Regions from separate parts of the Homo sapiens genome. Here region 1 is linked to region 2. Evidence: promoter capture Hi-C in human tissues and cell types (Jung and others, 2019). All regions are on one chromosome and are shown on one strand. The core of a region is centred on a gene start or on the middle of the fragment in contact, and the rest is flanking DNA. Distances in the headings are between cores, read along the strand shown. Region 1 overlaps LOC105373790 (a long non-coding RNA gene). Region 2 holds the start of DIRC1 (disrupted in renal carcinoma 1).

Region 1 (2,794 bases), core at 39-2,538, 110 kb after region 2:
ATCTACCAAAATCTTGGAATCAAATTTCTAGAACATTTTGACGAGAATCATTATAATTAAAATGGCATGACAGAATGGCTTCGCCATCAAACAGATTGGCCGCTCATCCTAAAGTGGTTTTAATTATGATTTGACTCCTCTGAACAGTGCACATTTAGGGAGATATTTATCACCAGATGTACAATTAGGTGCCCAATTTATGCATTTTTAATTTATTCAATGAAATATATTAAATGCCTGCTATGATCTAGGGATATGGGTATACAGTACTAAAGAAACAGACAAAAGTATCGTAACATTATAGAAGAGCAGAATTGTTTGAAAAAATAGAAACATAACTTCCCAGGAGGGTGGAGCCAGTGAATGCTGGAACAGACCACTGTTAGAGAAAGTAATCTGATATATAACAGTAAAACATGGGATAATCTCCTTTGAAAATGGATTTTGAGAAGCACATGAGTCTGAGTCAGAGCTACAGAAGTAACCCATGTGAGACAAAACCATGGTCACACACCAAGATATTTTTACATATCTGCACATTCATTTTTCACTAAGAAATTGCATCCTTAACATTTTTTACTTCCCCTTTCCACAATTTCACCCCCCACTGATAATTGTTTACTCACAAGGCCATTGCTGAAAGTACAGTAACATAATGTTTAAGTACTAAGCATTAAGAGAGAGAAATAAATACATAAATGATTCTTAGTCAACAAGAGTTAAAAAGCCATCATTTATTTACCACTATACATCTAAATTACTGGGCTCAGTTGCTGGTAGAATTATCTATCCCAACAATGAGAGTGACTCAGATTTTTCATCTGGCCCCATAAATTATTATGTTGCTCTGGGAGAATGACTAAGGGTCTTTGCCTAGTCATTTAATTGTATAGTATAAGTAAAGGAGAGAGGGAGCTTTAATATTCTCATCCAAATATTGTTGGGTTGAGTTTTCCAAGCTAAAATACAGAGAACTTCATGCTTCATACTTACTTATTTCTTAAGAAGGTTCTTTTTCTTTTTTCCATTCTTTTGTTAATTAGAGTTTGGGGGAATCCACAAAAATTTGGAGAATGTCTTATCTGAAGATGCCAGGAAGGAAAAAAAAATCATGAAAGTAGTCTCTTTCCAGAGCAAGTTTCTCCTGTTTTAACAGTTGAGAAAGTCAAATGCATTGTCTGCATCCTTCACCTTGTATTTCTATTGAATCTTTCTTATCAATATGCTCTATGCATCTGCACAGATTTTACCTTCAAATTTAGCAGACTGGTGTGAATCAGAGACAAACTAAAAAACAACAAGCTAAAATACAAACTAAAAAATAAAAAAAACTAAGTACCCACTTCAGAATTAATTATAATATTTAAGCTTGATTAAAAATAAAATAACAGAATAAACACTGTTGAAGACTAAATTAATCATATGGAAGATAAATTCAGAGCAATATCCTAGGACATACAGCCAAAACACTCAGAAAGTTAAAACCAAGAATTCCACAGACAGAATATATTAGGAGTGGAAATTATCCCAGTCACACCGCACCAAAACGTTACCGGCGGCGAATCTATATGGGTCTACAGTACCTCAATTCTTACCTCCTCAGAAGAAAGAATTTGACTGAAGTGCATAAGGCAGAAATTAAAGCAAATTTTAGAGCAGGAGTGAAAGTTTATTAAAAAGCTTTAGAGCAGAAATAAAAGGAAGGAAATTATAGTTGGAAGAGGGACAGGTGGGCTACTTGAGAAAGCCAAGTGTGCATTTGACCTTTTGACTTGGGGTTTCATACGTTGGCATACTTCCAAGGTCTGCCTCTTTTCTCCCCTGATTCTTTGCTTGTAGTGGGCTATCTGCATGTGCAGTGGCCTGATAGCACTTGGGAGGAGAGTGCAAGGTGCGTTTACTGGAGTTGCAGGCATGTTCACTTGAGGTATTCTTCCCTTACCAGCCAAATGTCCCTAGGAGGTCATATACCAGTTAAACTTCACCGTTTTGCCTCTTAGTGTGCATGCTCGAGCTCACTCATGCAACTCCTGAGATCTTACAGGCAAGCTGTTGATCACCAATTTTTTTAGGTATTTTCTATCTACGGGGAGACTGCCTTTCCCTCGTGCTGGCTGCAACCAACTATTATTTTAGAGAGACAGTTAACAACCGCCTGAACATCACCTGATGGTCGCCTGACATTCCTGCTTGCAGGTTCACCATCTCCTGCCCTGCTCATGTCTGTCTGAAAAATAGAGTCAATGAAGGAGAAAGGCAAAAGTAATCTTTTATTACTTTCATGAGTATTTCTTCTCCCCCCTGGCAGAGCATCTGCCCTTTAAACACAAGAGCTTCAGGTGATTTGCTTTAGCCAATTAATTGTTTGTGGAAGCGATGTGTGCCACTCCTGAACAGAAGCTTCAAGTTCATTTTTCTTTTGTCCCTGTGTCATGAGGCTTGCTATGTTCCAGAGAGAGGCTATTTTTTCACCCTAATTCCTGGAGTGAAAACTACAGGCTATTACTGTTTTACAAAATATTTTGCTACTGTATAATGTTCTAGGATCTAATAACAGATTTATCATTATTCTTGCATGGACTTACTCCTAATGGACATATGCAGTGTGAGAAAATAAACATCTTTACACCACAATCTTTAGAGAGATTATATAATTTTATGTGTCCTGACTGATAGACAAGATGAGTACTACTATATCAGAAAACCTTAAGCAGGCAGCACTAGCCTCATGTCCATGTACTAGATGGTGAAAAACTGCTACTAGAAGTTAGAAGGACAGTGACGGGATGCTGTG
Region 2 (2,976 bases), core at 394-2,893:
TTCCTTTGTAGTCAGGGTTTGTACTATGAATGATTTCTGTTGTTGAAATTTATTCAGACTTGTCTTATGGCTTGAAATATATATTTTTAGTGAATTTTTTTTCTACTTAAAAAGGATATTTATTTTGTAGTTCTTTGGGATAGAGACCTTGTATTTTAATTAGTTCAAGTTTATTGTGTTGTTAAATTATTTTGTATCTTTACTAATTTTGGTCTACCTATTGTAGAGGTGGTATTTACATCTCTGATGATAATTTTACAAGTTTATCGATCATCTCTTTATTTCAATAATATTTTGCTTTATATATTTTAAGAACTGTTATTCCATATAAATATGGAAGTATCAGCCCTGTACTTTTTAGGTAAATGTATAATAGAAAATATTAAGTAAGTTTAATTATTGAGATATAAATACTTCAGTCTGTGCTGTTCTCTCTTTTTCCTGTTCAACTACTAAAATCAAAATAATAATACAATAGTCACTATAAACTGCCAGTCTTCTTTGTGTCACATATTTTATACATTGTTTATAATTATTACATTTAAAAATAGATATTACCCTTCCTATTTCATAACGTAGTCAATTTATGACATGTAATATAAGGTAAACAATGTTACAGGGATTTGAGTGAGCAAAAATTTGTCTGAATCCAGAAGTCTTCTCTCAATGTCCATGACTACAATTAGTTCCATTGTATTTTCCAATGCATGTTTAAATATCTTACATTCAGCCATCATTGACTATTGTTGAAGTTGATTTTTAATCATTTGTTGCCTGAACTTCAGAAATCCTCTTAAGATTAATCATCACCGATTGTCCAGACTGAGCTCTAAATTGCCCATGCCTATCATAGCATGTTTTCCAATTCATCACTTCTTGAACTGTCACAAACTATAGTATTACGAAAAGTGTTGTATTTCATTGTAAATGTGTGAGCTAATATGTTGGGTTTTAATATGTCACTAGTTTTAGCTTGGGGACCAGTTTGGCACACATGTAAAATTTTACACAGATGTGTTAATTCCTCTAAACATTTTAATTTATTCCTAAAGCTTGTATTTGTCCACAATAGATTTTCTCTTAAAACAATGTTTTTAGTATCATGCCAAGTGTTAGCTTTAAGGACAGCCAGAAAAAGAGAAAATAATTATGTAAACTAAATTTCAACAGCATTTCCCTGCCTTTTGAGATCAGTAAGATTGATTCAATGTATTTTCCACTGAGTTCAACCTGTATCTCAAGAATTTTCAAATTTCATCAGAATTTATGATCACTTTCAGCTCTTAAGTCCTGCTTAGTGTGAATCAGTTTAGGGATAATCTAAATGTCCAATATGTATTATTATGTTTTGCATTATATTGTTTTAGATGTGGATCACTATACTTTTTCTTAGTTATGCCAAACTACTTATAGAAACTCTTATATGTGTAAAGGACTACTGAGTTATAGGGGATGTAGAGATTTACACTGCCAAAAGGCTCAAGATGTAATATTCTATGTTAGATATTGATGTTCCTAAAGTTCCCTCTCTCCTTCCAAATCTTGGGCTTCAGATTCCGATCATGTAGGTTAAATCATCTTTTGTTGATTACTCATGTTTTTAGTTTCTCTCTCCAAATTCCTATTGATTTCCAAATACAAAGCAGTTTAGTTGTGTCTCTTGACATGGGCAGAGTTTCTCTTGCCCTTAAAGTCTTACTTTCCACTTCTAAATACCTTCCAAGATGTTTTCCTCCACAAACACAATATCTTCCTTAAAAGATAGACCCTGCATCAGTTGTTAAGCTAACACATCTTTCTCCTCACTACAAATGTATCACTATTGAATTTCTCTCCACAAGTGTGAAGATGGCTGGAGTAGAAATTCTGGCATTGCTTCTCATCACCAGAAGGAAAAATTCAGGTGAGCTCTGTCAAAATGGTGGGTTGGCTATGGCACTCATTTCTCAATCATAAGATTTTAGGCCAGGACAGTCTACTCTATTAACATAGTCTGAAGAAGTGATCTTTCCTTTTACATTTATAGAGTCTTTTCTTACTAGTGATAATAGACATGCTGTAAAGTACCTCATATCCTAAAACCTTTAGTTTTAAGTATACAGCGAACAACTTAATTTAACTTCTATACAGCATAGACAAAATATATGATAAGTGACTATGTCATTTACATTTAATGGATTGGGAAATGTTATTTTATTTAAGGAAAGTTCTTCTGTAAAAATGTGTCTTCTTTGACATTGTTATGTGTCAGCTAACTCACATTTTCAAAGCTGGAGTGCAGATATTTCTGAGTATATATATATATATGTGTATATATATGTGTGTATATATACGTATATATATGTATATATACGTATATATGTGTATATATACGTATATATGTGTATATATACGTATATATGTGTATATATACGTATATATGTGTATATATACGTATATATGTGTATATATATACGTATATATGTATATATACGTATATATGTGTATATATATACGTATATATGTATATATACGTATATATATGTGTGTGTATATATATATATTTGGTTACACATAATACTATTCCTGTCATTTTCTTCAAGAGTTCAAAACTATTGTGGAGTATTTTTATTTTATTGTGTGTACTTCTAAATTCTCACTAGAGTTTTACTCTCATGACAGTCATAAATTGCTGGTTCTTTTTCATGGGAGAGGGTAAGATTTCCACAGGGAATAGCTGCCTTAAAGAAGTATTTTACATATTAAGAGTTCTTAAAGTAATTTTAATTAGTCCCTCCAAAATTATTTTTCCTTGAAGCTGTTTGTTTAGAAAAATTTGGTTCTTGCTTTTTAGCATTAAGCTGTATAGATTTTTAAAATAAACCAAACACATAAACTTTTTTCTCTATCTTTCTTTCTTTGTCCCTTTTATTATGAAATGCATTCTGTGCCTATCCAGCTGTGCTGGCTGTGTGTCAGTAATGTGAGTCACTGACC

Evidence for each region. The method cuts DNA at HindIII sites, captures the fragments that hold promoters and counts their contacts. A contact is called where the count stands out against the background at its distance.
Region 1: a fragment that was not itself captured here is called in contact with the fragment with the promoter of DIRC1 in region 2 in 4 of the 25 tissues and cell types used here (IMR-90 fibroblasts, bladder, mesenchymal stem cells and 1 more).

Annotation. Positions count from the first base shown.
Region 1 is chr2:188,673,873-188,676,666 of GRCh38, reverse strand. All of the region lies in intron 2 of LOC105373790 (a long non-coding RNA gene), which reads right to left. Among named protein-coding and RNA genes, the nearest start is that of DIRC1, 110 kb to the left of the region's middle. RefSeq lists an enhancer at 2,056-2,556. The HindIII fragment of the contact is 4,093 bases long and covers 1-2,794 here.
Region 2 is chr2:188,788,790-188,791,765 of GRCh38, reverse strand. It overlaps DIRC1 (disrupted in renal carcinoma 1), which reads left to right and starts at 1,643. Exons shown (of 2, transcript NR_161166.1): 1 at 1,643-1,903. The HindIII fragment of the contact is 6,834 bases long and covers 1-2,976 here.